2 separate regions of the Homo sapiens genome follow, and region 1 is linked to region 2. The links are contacts of gene promoters, found by promoter capture Hi-C in blood cells and fetal thymus (Javierre and others, 2016). All regions are on one chromosome and are shown on one strand. The core of a region is centred on a gene start or on the middle of the fragment in contact, and the rest is flanking DNA. Distances in the headings are between cores, read along the strand shown.

What was found. The method cuts DNA at HindIII sites, captures the fragments that hold promoters and counts their contacts. A CHiCAGO score of 5 or more calls a contact.
Region 1: a fragment that was not itself captured here is called in contact with the fragment with the promoter of KIF13A in region 2 in 3 of 17 cell types (neutrophils, monocytes and megakaryocytes); the score reaches 8.8 in neutrophils.

What each region holds. Positions count from the first base shown.
Region 1 is chr6:17,871,023-17,876,869 of GRCh38, forward strand. KIF13A (kinesin family member 13A) reads right to left here. Exons shown (of 39, transcript NM_022113.6): 4 at 2,355-2,415. Among named protein-coding and RNA genes, the nearest start is that of KIF13A, 110 kb to the right of the region's middle. The HindIII fragment of the contact is 4,568 bases long and covers 2,139-5,847 here.
Region 2 is chr6:17,983,612-17,989,435 of GRCh38, forward strand. KIF13A (kinesin family member 13A) reads right to left here and starts at 4,024. Exons shown (of 39, transcript NM_022113.6): 1 at 3,798-4,024; 2 at 3,443-3,533. The coding sequence starts at 3,852. RefSeq lists silencers at 3,610-3,729, 4,100-4,599. The HindIII fragment of the contact is 11,131 bases long and covers 1-5,824 here.

The DNA of each region.
Region 1 (5,847 bases), core at 3,173-5,672, 110 kb before region 2:
CTGAAATTCAAACACAGGTCTCACGTCAAAATCCATGTGCTCTCCTTGACACATGTCACTTCCTCTTGTCTGGATGCCTTCTAGGCTTCCCTTTGACTAAACTCTAAACAACTCATATGTTGACAAGTAATAATCATATATATTTATGGTATACAACATGATGTTCTGATATATGTATCCCTTGTGGAATGGCTGAATCAGGCGATTTAATGTATGTGTTGTCTCAAATACTTATCTCCTCTATGTTCCATCTGCTCTCTGGTGCCTTCCCAGACAATTGGTGCCTTTCCAGATTTTCTCTCTTTAAAATCTGGTGCCTTTTCTCTTTCTCTTTAAAATCTGGTGCCTTTCCAGATTTTATCTCTCCTTGGATTTTATGTAACACTTAAAATCTATAAAATTTAGAGTTTAAATATTATCTCAAAATGTTATTTGGTATGCATTTCTTTTGCTTTCTAACTTATTTTTGGATTTCTCAAGGGCTTCATGGGCTGCACACACACAGTGGGTTGGGGGGGGAGTCATGAATACTTAAAAAATTATTGTGAGACTTTCTGGCTTCCTGAGTTATATGAGAGGAACCAACAACAGACACTGGGCTGAGGCACTGAATGAGTGGTGAGAGGAGTCCCAGAAGAGACAGTGGAGAAGGTAGAATGGGGTTATATAATAAAGGACCTCAAATGTAGTCCAAAGAGTATAGATTTTTTCTAGCATGTGATGAGGAGTCCTGGAAAGTATCTGAGAAGTGCATGAGAAGAGCTCCAGTTCAGGAAGATATATATGGCTGCATCTTGAGTAACATAAATTGAACACGGTTAATGACGGGTTTGTATAACCATAGCATTTATCCCCATTTGTCTCTGCATCTGTAGGAAATGTTTTACTTTTGTTGTTGATTTAAATCTAAAAGTACACACCCGGCACAAAAATACAGAGTGCTAACAAGTCAAGACTGTTCCAGACTCTGAAGAACTTATTACATAAAGTCCCAAAGGACTGATAAAAAGACAAATTAATTACAACCAACATTATGAACTACTTACTCACTTTAATAAAATATATTGCTCAAGTTGTAGGAATGATATTTGGAAAGGCTAATTTACCCAGTGTGAGCAACTGAAGGAATTCTCCTAGTCCAAGATTGTTAACTCTTGAAAAAATTATGTTATCAAACAATTTCTCAAGTTTGCTTTATATGGCAAGGAAAAACCTATCAATAAACAAAACATTAATTTTCTTTAAACTAGTCATGTGCTTTTACCTCCAAATCTTTTAAGGCCAATATCCTCCCTTCATTTTTTTGTTTTTAACTAACTGAGAATGTCATTCAGCTGATGCTCTTATAAGTAGAAATAAGGAGAAAACACTCAGTAGGAAGAAATAGTTCACGAGCTCTATTGTACAACACGGTGACTATAGTTAATAACAACGTACTGTATTCCTGAAAATTGCTAACTGAGTAGACTTTAAGTGTTCTTACCACAAAAAAGGATAAGTTCATGAGGTAAAGCATGTGTTAATTAGCTCAATTTAGCCATTCCATAATATATACATATTTCAAAACATCACACTGTACATGATAAATATATGCAACTTTCATTTGCCAGTTAGAAAAATAATTTTTTTTTATTTTTTTGAGACAGAGTCTCACTCGGTCACCTAGGCTGTGGTGGGACCTCGGCTCACTGCAACCTCTGCCTCCTGGGCTCAAGGCATTCTCCCGCCTCAGCCTCCCAAGTAGCTGGGATTACAGGCGCCCACCACCACACCTGAATAAGTTTTGTATGTTTAGTAGAGACGGGGTTTTGCTATGTTATTCAAGCTGGTCTTGAACTCCTGACCTCAAGTGATCCGCCCACCTCGGCCTCCCAAAGTGCTGGGATTACAGATGTGAGCCACCATGCCCGGACGAAAAATAAATTTTTAAAAAGATGAAATATCTAAGAAAAAGGGGGCATAATCAGAAGCAAAAGAACCAAAAACTTCCTCCACCAAACCAAATGCTTCCCTCTGGAACTAAAGCAATTGTGACTGACTCCTAGGAAAGCCTATGGTCATAAATTATAAAACAGCAGTCATTTGTGTTGGATGGAATGAGGATAAAATACCACAAGGAGGTCAGGTGAACAATTTGAAGCTTAATAAAAATCTGTTCAAGGATTTTACAAGTAAGTGGCAGACCCAGATTCTGAAACCAAATCTTATTGACTTCAAAACTCATGTGGTATAATTGGAAAGAACAGGTGTGAATTACACAGGGAAAGTAAAACTCCAGAGGAATTAAAGAAAATAAACTCAATGGAAGAAGAGGCCAGAAGCCCAACTGTCAGGTGTAGAGGGAGAAAACTTACCAGCGTATTTTGTAGTGTTAGATTCATCCATGGACCAAAAGCAATAATCAAAGGCAAATACCTGAATGAAAGAACAAAATATTAAACTTAAAGATTAATTAACTTCTTATGAGTAAATCAGACTAAAATAAATCACAGGTGAAGATGAGAAGGATGGCCACTACTGTCTGACTGAAAAAAATCACTATAGGTTTGGTGCTTTTGTTAACCATAAAATTTCTTATTTTCCTCTTTTTTGGGGGACAGGGTCATCCAGGCTGGAGTGCAGTTGAACTATCACAGCTCACTGAAGCCTCAAACTCCTGGGCTCAAGGGATCCTCCTGCTTCAGCCTCCTGAGTAGCTAGGACCACCAGTGCATGCCACCATATCGAGCAATTAAAAAAAAAATTGTTGCAGACAGGAGGTCTTGCCCTATTGCTCAGGCTGGTCTCGAACTCCTGGCCTCAAGTAATCCTCTCTCTTCTGCCTCCCAAAATGTACTGGGATTATAGGTGTGAGCCATCGCGCCTGGCCCTATGATATTTCTTTTAGACTAAATATATGGTTAGCTTTCTGTATTAGAATAAGTTGTATATGAAAATTACTATTTATCTAGAATTCAAATAACCAGACATTTTAACGAGATATTTTTTTCCACAATACATCTGATGAGAAAACACAAAAAACAAAAACAATATCTTCTCTCGCAAGTCCATGGTTTCAGCAACCATGGAACCTTCCAGGTCGATCTCCCTCAGCTTCTCAATACTCAACTTTCATATAAAGCAGTTCCTTCTCCTAGCTTTCCATGATATCATCTGTAGCATACTGAAGTTCAAAACTCTCCATATTCCCATCCTGCACTCCTTTCCCCTTCTGTCTCTGCAGGCAATCTCCAGCAAAGCATGTTTTTGTTTTTGTTTTTGTTTTTTGGTGGTGGTGGGGGGGGTTCTTACTGTATTTTTAATATACAATTCCTCGAAAAGTAAAGATGTGAAGCAACTTTACATGTTTAGCAATTTTACATGTTTAGTATTTGGCATGTCTTTTACATGTAAAAGTATCTCTTCATATTTTTTAAATTTTAATTTTTTTTGAGTTGGAGTCTCGCTTTGTTGCCCAGGCTGGAGTGCAGTGGTGCGATCTCGGCTCACCGCAACCTCTGCCTCCCGGGCTCAAGTAATTCTCCTGCCTTCAGCCTCCTGGGTAGCTGGGACTACAGGTGCTCGCCACCATGCCTGGCTAATTTCATGTTTTATCTTTTTTTATTTTTCTATAAGTTATTGGGGTACAGGTGGTATTTGGTTACATGAGTTAGTTCTTTAGTGGTGATTTGTGAGATTTTGGTGCACCCATCACCTGAGCAGTGTACACTGCATCATATTTGTAGTCTTTTATCCCTCGCCCCTCTCCCACTCTTCCCCTCAAATCCCCAAACTCCCCTGTATCATTCTTATGCCTTTCTGTCCTCATAGCTTAGCTCCCACATATCAGTGAGGACATACAACGTTTGGTTTTCCATTCCTGAATTACTTCATTTAGAACAATAGTCTCCAATCTCATGCAGGTCGCTGCAAATGCCGTTAATTCATTCCTTTTTATGGCTAAGTAGTATTCCACCACACACACACACACGCACACGCACGCACACACACACACACACACACAGCATGGTTCCTTTATCCACTTGTTGACTGATGGACATTTGGGTTGGTTCCACGATTTTGCGATTGTGAACTGTGCCACTATAAACATGCATGTGCAAGTATCTTTTTCGTATAATGACTTATTTTCCTCTGGATAGATACCCAGGAGTGGGATTGTTGGATCAGATGGTAGTTCTACTTTTAGTTCTTTAAGGAATCTCCACACTGTTTTCCATAGTGGTTGTACTAGTTTACATTTCCACTAGCAATGTAAAAGTGTTCCCTGTTGACCGCATCCACACCAACATCTACTGGTATGAAATCATTAATTCACTTTTACATGAATTAACTTTCTGTATAGCTACTGAATGCCTACTATATACCGGGAATGGCTGGTGCTTCTTGGTGCTTCCCCTGTAAGGACTCCCATCAAACTGCTGTTTTTTCTTTTCCTTTTTTTTTTTTTTTTGAGACAGAGTCTCACTCTGTCACCCAGGCTGCAGTGCAGTGGCATGATCTCAGCTCACTGCAGCCTCTGCCTCCTGGGTTCAAGCAATTCTCCTGCCTCAGCCTCCCAAGTAGCTGGGACTACAGGCACGCACCACTATGCCCAGCTAATTTTTGTATTTTTAGTAGAGACGAGGTCTCACCATGTTGGCCAGGGTGGACTCAAACTCCTGACCTCAAATGATCTGCCTGCCTCAGCCTCCCAAAGTGCTGAGATTACAGGCGTGAGCCACCATGCCTGGCCCTAACTGCTGTTTTTCATGCCCATTACCACCACTTGTGTTCCAGCTGTTATTATCAAATGTGTAGAGCAATGTTCCCCAAAGTGTGTTCTAAGGAACCAGAGTTTCATGAGCTACTCCATGAAAAAAGACCAAATCATGTTGGAAGTGGTGCACGTTTTATCCTATTTGAGATTCTCAATGAAATTCTCAATATTAAAGGCTCTAAAAAGTCTTCCAGAGACTTTTCAGAAATGAAGTCCAGGAAAGAAGCCTATTTGATTGTTTAACATTTTATTTCCCCAATTCATTTTGGTGAGGAGACCCTTTTTGGACTAACACTTATTAACATGCCTTGGAACTACTACTTCTCAGCATATCCCTTAGCAAATGCAGCCCAGGTGACTCAGCAGCTACCTTCCTGGGCTCACTGCTATTGCCCTTTATCTCTTGCAGTCCAAACAGCAAATTACAAACCTCCCATGGGCAGGATCCTTTAATGCTTAATCACTTCCAAGAGATCTTAAGCACTGAGCATACAGAACCCATGCTCTTTGGCCTGGCATTTGAGACTAGCCACAATAGGCCCTCCCAGCCTATTAACCCCAAATTCCTCATGCTCCAGTGGAACTTGTCCTTACCTCAGAATTACTAAGTATAATTTCATCTCTGTCCTTGTTCTCTCCTTCATTTCCACCCTTCAAAATACGTCATACCCCTTAAGGCCCAGTTCGATACATTTTTCCTCCCAGAAGCATTCTTGGTTAAATCCAAAGGAATCATCTTTTCTTTCTCTGAAACCTTACAACACTGTTTAGTCCTTTTTTATGGCTCCTATCTCAATTATTTTATTTTTCATTTATCATGTATATGATCTGTGTGTGTGAGACAGCATTCATTCATTCATTCATTCATTCATTCATTCAGAGACAGGGTCTCCCTCTGTTGCCCAGACTGGAGTGCACTGGCACTATCATGGCTCACTGCAGCCTCAATCAGCTCAATTGATCCTACCTCCTCAGCCTCCTGAGTAGCTGGGACTACAGGCACATGCCACCATGCCCAACTAATTTTTGTGTTTTTTGTAGAGATGGGACTTCGCCATGTTGCCCAGACTGGTATCAAACTCTTGGGTTCA
Region 2 (5,824 bases), core at 2,774-5,273:
GCTCCTAGGCAACTGGGATTATAGGTATGTACCACTCGGCTAATTTTTATATTTTTAGGAGAGACAGGGTTTCATCGTGTTGGCCAGGGTGGTCTCAAACTCCTGGCCTCAAGAGATCCGCCCACCCTAGCCTCCCAAAGTGCTGGGATTACAGGTGTGAGCTACCTCACCCAGCCCAGAACTACCTTGCTTCTGAATGGTACTCCACCCCCTCACCTCACACACATACAAGCACCCAGAAGCAATGTGTTGCAGGTATGCTTTCACTTTCATTGGCAAAGGACTCTCTCCTCGTCTTGCAAAAGTGAACCTATGCTCTCAGCATCCATAAGACCACACAAACACCACCTGTCTTGGCAAGTTGACAGGACCTTGGGTAGCATCCACAGCCCCTCCTCAATGCTCCCATCACATTTGCTAAGCCCTTGCTAAGTGCCAGTATGCAGGAGCATGAGGTACAAAGAGAAGTAGGATAAGGTACCTACCTGCCTTCAAGCAGTTCACAGCCTCCAGGGAGAGAAAGAGGAAACAGAGAATTTTGAAATTATGTGGTTCATGAAATGGCAAAAGTATACACCAGCGTAATTTACCACGTTGTATTTTAACTACTTTTTCCTCTCTCTCCTCCTTCTCTCCAAGGTGAGTGACTCTGGTGTAGGTACTGGATCCACAAGTATCTTTGAATCCCCTATGCTGAGCATGGTACTGAAATGATCTGAACTTCATAAATGTCTCCTGGAGAGCAATGCAATGGTATTTTAAGAAACAAATCCATGTGTCTTAATGTTTCAGAATGGTGATCAGTATACATATCAACTACTAACCTGGACCTATGCAATGTATTACAATACTAGAATTTCAGCAACAAAACAAACATCTTTAACCTCAGAGATCCTCTGATCTTTTAGTCCTAGCTACACAGTCTTGGCTTTGGTTTTGTAAAATGGGGAAACAATGAAAGCTGACCCCATCTGTTTTTTTTTTTTTTCCCTGGACGTCAATGCATTCTCACTTGTTTTTACTGGTAAGACTGAAAACTTTCACCCACTAACCTTCAATTTCTATCCATGGCTAATTCATTGGTAATTTCTTGCAACTTTCAGAAAAACAGTAATTCTCAATTTGACACAGGTTTGCCAATATGCATTTAAAGACCTCTTACACTTCAAACCTTGGACTTGCAGATATGAAAAATAATAACATTCTCAGTATTCTACTCTTCACCTTTGCCCTGCCCTGAGCACTATCTAAAAACCAATGACAGAAATGAATTGCAAACATAGCATGAAGCACTGCTGCAATTAATCAACCCAGAGCCCAAGGGAGGAATTGTTTCTATTTTTAAATGCACTGTTACTTTAAGGGAAAAGTCTGTGGAGAAATATGAAACCAAGCTGCATAATGAAAATAAAAATGCATTTGGTGTCTTCATCTGTGCAAAGACAGTAATCCTAATGTACAAGGAGCACTGTTTTGTTGACTACTCAGTTTGTCTGTAAATGAAATGACCGGTACTCAAGACAGAATCCCACAGAAAGCTCATCTGCTATTCAAAGAATTAGATCCGTCAGAAGGACAAAACACGAGAGTACCCATATTTCAATGCTATTTTTATAACTCCAGATAAGGGACTATCGTAAGTAAGCAGATGAATAGATCCCAAAATCACCCTTCAAATCTTTACCTAAAAGATCCTGATTAGTAACTAACGTGGTTCAGCCCGAAAAATGATCAACTGATTACTTAGCATTTGGAACCAACTGTCCACAGTTATAGATTGTACCAAATCCCACAAAATCAAATCTGTTTCTCTTCACAAATGACAACACTTCATGTCATTAAACAGTAGCTAACAGTCGCACTGCTTATGGTTAAGAGTGACAAGGAGCAGGTGCCAAGCCAGCAAGGAAAACAAGTAACGGCTACACAACAGGAGCTAAAAAGTATTCTACCTGTTCCCCCAGACTGCTTTCAAGAATCTGACCCAACAGAATTTTTTCCCGAAACAATATGCAGTTTGCGGGGGGGTGGGGGGAGGGGACATTCGTTGGTGATATGGGCATCTAATTTAATCTGTAAATATTTAATGTACTCAATGAGTTTACTTACTATCACCATGAAATATGCTATACTATCTACACTGCTATAAATGCATCTAAAAATACATCCATTACTAGACAACATTCAGTACAATGTACAATAAACACTACATTCAGTGTTAAACACAACATTTTACATATAGCTTAGCTATTTAATATCACCACCAGAATCTGCTAAAGGTAGCAGAATGTTTGCAAACTGGATAAAAACTGCTATGCTCAACACGAAAAGCAAAGAATCCCCAATCTTATCGCCTCATGATTTCTTTCCCCAAATTTGGCAAAACTGAGCTTGAACACCACACATTATAGAATGGAGGCATTGCTTCTCTAAGCAATAATGTCACAAACCCTGCTTCAGAGTCTCTCTTCAGTGAAAATCTCTGAAGAAGGAAATTCACTAAATTGTATTCCATCGATCAACAGGTGATTCGTGGAAACACAAACTCATATTCATTTCCAATGAAAATTAATATTGTAAACTCTCCCGTTTTTTCACATATATATATTTACAAGCTACTGCATTATTATATTGAATGAATTCCAACCGATTTCTTCTCAGAGGCTTACTAGAAAAATGCCAAATATTCAAATTATTTTGGGGCGTTAACCCATACTGTTGCATGGAACAGAACGGAATTAATAAGGATCCAACAGTTACCACTTTTCAAATGCAAATATGTTGCCATCTAGTAAATACAGCCCCTTTTTAAACATCCCTCAGTGTCTATACAGTTCAGGGCCCTACTTTTGTTTCTTTGAAAATCAAAATTCGCGCATTACATTGAGGCATTATCTCAACTCAGCAACAACAACTAAAATAGATACTAACTAGTCCAGCCTGAGTCTACATCGTACAAGACTTTTGCTTTATTTTTTCCTCCCATTTTAGACACACTGTCCCTAAACAATTCTGCCAAAGGAAACAAACCCTGCAGTGATGAAAAGAATCACGGACACTGGGTTCCACGAACAATAAGGTCGTGGGCTGGTCACCTGCCCGCCTCGGGCCTCAGTTTTCCTGTCTGTAAAATGTGGCCGCTGGACGAATCACCTATGGGGTCCCATCCGGCCCTCTCCCTCCCGGGTGCCTCGCAGCCCGCCCGGGCTCAGCTGACTGGTGCTGTGGCCAGGGTGCCCTGCCTGCCGCCGCTCTAGATGGAGGAGAAGGGGGGCGAGGGAGGAGAGGAACTTGGACTTGCAACAGCTTCAAACAGGAGCCGGCGACAAACTTGAAGCCGTCCTCCTAACAATAGGAAAGAGCACTCCCATTTTCCTGGCTCAAACTTGCGGGACCCCGCGAGGCTGGATCCTCCCAGCCGCCCTCTCGGAACCCGCTTTACCTTTCTCCCTGTTTGGTGTTAGAAGGAGGAGGGTGCAGGACCGTTTGATTCCCTTCCATCTCCACCACGCACTTGGTGTTCAGTTCCAGTTCTGAAAGCAGAGAGAAAGGGACGTTGCAAAGTCCAGCATCCGCGCCTCCAGCCCGCCCGCCCGCCAGCCGCGCCGAGCGGGGCTCCGTCCCTGGAGGCGGCCGAGCCTGGAGACGGCGCCCCGGGCACCACGGCCAGCGCGGACGCCGCCTCCGCCCCGGCCCCCCGGCCCCGGCCGCGCTCTCGCCGTCCCGGCCCCGCAGTTTCTAAAGTTGCCCCCGCCCTCAGCCCGAGCAGAAATAAAAAAGAGCGGAAAGCTCCTCACCTCGTCGGTTCATGGGCCGGACCCGGACGGCAACTTTTACCTTGGTATCCGACATGTTGGCTGCGCTCGCCCGGCCGCTCGCCGCGCCCGCTCGGCCTTAGGCGGCCCCTCACGCGCGGCGCCGCCGCCGCTGCAGCCGCGCGCCCCTCGAGCGCGGCCGCCGCCGCTCCGCCGTGAGCTCCGAGAGGCAGCGCCGAGGCGCGCGGGCCATCCCGGGGGAGCGCGACGCGGGGCACGGCCGCGGCCCGGGGAGGGGCGGGCGCGCGGGGCGGGGCGCGGCGGCGGCGGCGGCGGCGGCGGGCGGGGAGGAGGCCTCGCCGGCGGGCCCAGGCGCAGCTCTAGCCGCGCCGCCCCAGCCGAGACCGCAGCGCCGCGGCCCCTCGCGGCTGCCCGGGGCCCCGCGCCGCCATGTTCCGCGCCCGTCACCCGCCGGGGCTCGGGAGAGGCCGGACACGGCCACGCGCGGCGCCCCCTGGAGCGGCGGGACGGCAGTGAGAGGAGCGGCGAGCAGCGCGGCGCTTAGGGGAGGCTGGAGTCCGGGGCGGGACGCATTGTTTCCCCAGGGGACCTCCCAGGCCAAGCCTGCACCGGCGCCCGCGGGGCCCCCCCCCGGACACCGCCGTGAGCTCGAGCCGCCTTCTGGGGCCGCTGCCACCCGGAGCCCCGGGACGGCAGCAAGGACCACGGCTCGCCGCGCTGGGTGCGCAGGCCTTCCCCTCCGAGTCCCGGCACGCCGCCCCCTCTGTCCCACACGGAGCCTGCAGCGGTATTTTAAGATCTCTGTGGTGAACCGAGACTAGAAATGAATCTGTGAATCCACCACCGAAACAGTGTATGTTTGTAAATAGTGCTCTCCCTTCCTTTCCCGGCCTCTCTTGTCTCGGGAGGGATGTCAAGTGGGCTGGGAGGGCCATTAACTCTTACATAAGAATTTAATAGCAATGGATTCTGTCATCCTGCCAAATGCAGACCTCGCTGCCAGGGCGGAACTGGGCGAATCCGATTTATTCTGTTTGGTTCAACAAGTGCTTAAGGGGCGCTCACCGAGTGCCAGGCATTTTGAAGCGTACAGAAGTCAAAAATCCAGAGTTTAGATCCAGGAATCTTTCGATTTTGCTTAAATCTAGAAATCCACTTATTGGAAGATGCATTGAGGTTTTACTGTGTGCAGGGTGCTGTTGAGGACACACAGAAACATGAATAGCATGATGCAGAGGCACACGCTAAGGTGGAAGAGAGGGCGTGGAGACTTATTATGCTAGACAGTGTACGGCAGGTGCTAGGAGAGGGGTCCGTCCGCCTCCAACCGAGGTGATGCTACGCTTGACCCTCGAACAACACGGGTTTGAACTGCACGAGTCCACTTACACGTGGCTTTTTTTCAACCAAAATCTGATTGAAAATACAGTATTCGTGCTCTGGCACAGTGCCTTACGCCTGTAATCCCAACACTTTGGGAGGCCGAGGCGGGAGGATCACTTGAGGCCAGGAGTTCGAGACCAGCCTGGGCAATGTAAAGAAACCCCATCTTGCCAAACATAAAAATTTAAAAAATAGCCGGGCATGGTGGCAGGTGCCTGTAGTCTTAGTTACTGGAGAGGCTGAGGTGGGAGGATCACTTGAGCCTGGAAGGTTGAGGCTGCAGTGAGCCATGTTCGCACCACTGCACTCCAGCCTAGGCAACAAAGCAAGACCCTGTCTCAAAAAAAAAAAGGGAGAAAAAAGAAAAGACAGTATTTGGCAGGTTCAAAACTGAGAGATCCAACTTTTCCTATTTGTGGGTTCTGCAGAGCTGACTGTGGGACTTGAGTATGCATGGTTTTGGATGTTCCTGGAACCAGTCCCCTGTGTACACTGAAGGACAAATACTTCAGCCCCACCTTATTGTAGAGCCAGCTATCTCAGTCTACCTCTGAAGGGCCTGTTGCATCTTTCCTCCTCTCCATTCCTGCTGCTGCAATCTCACTTTACCTGTCCATTCACTTGTTCAACAAATGTGTTCTGAGCGCCCTACTATGTTACAAACA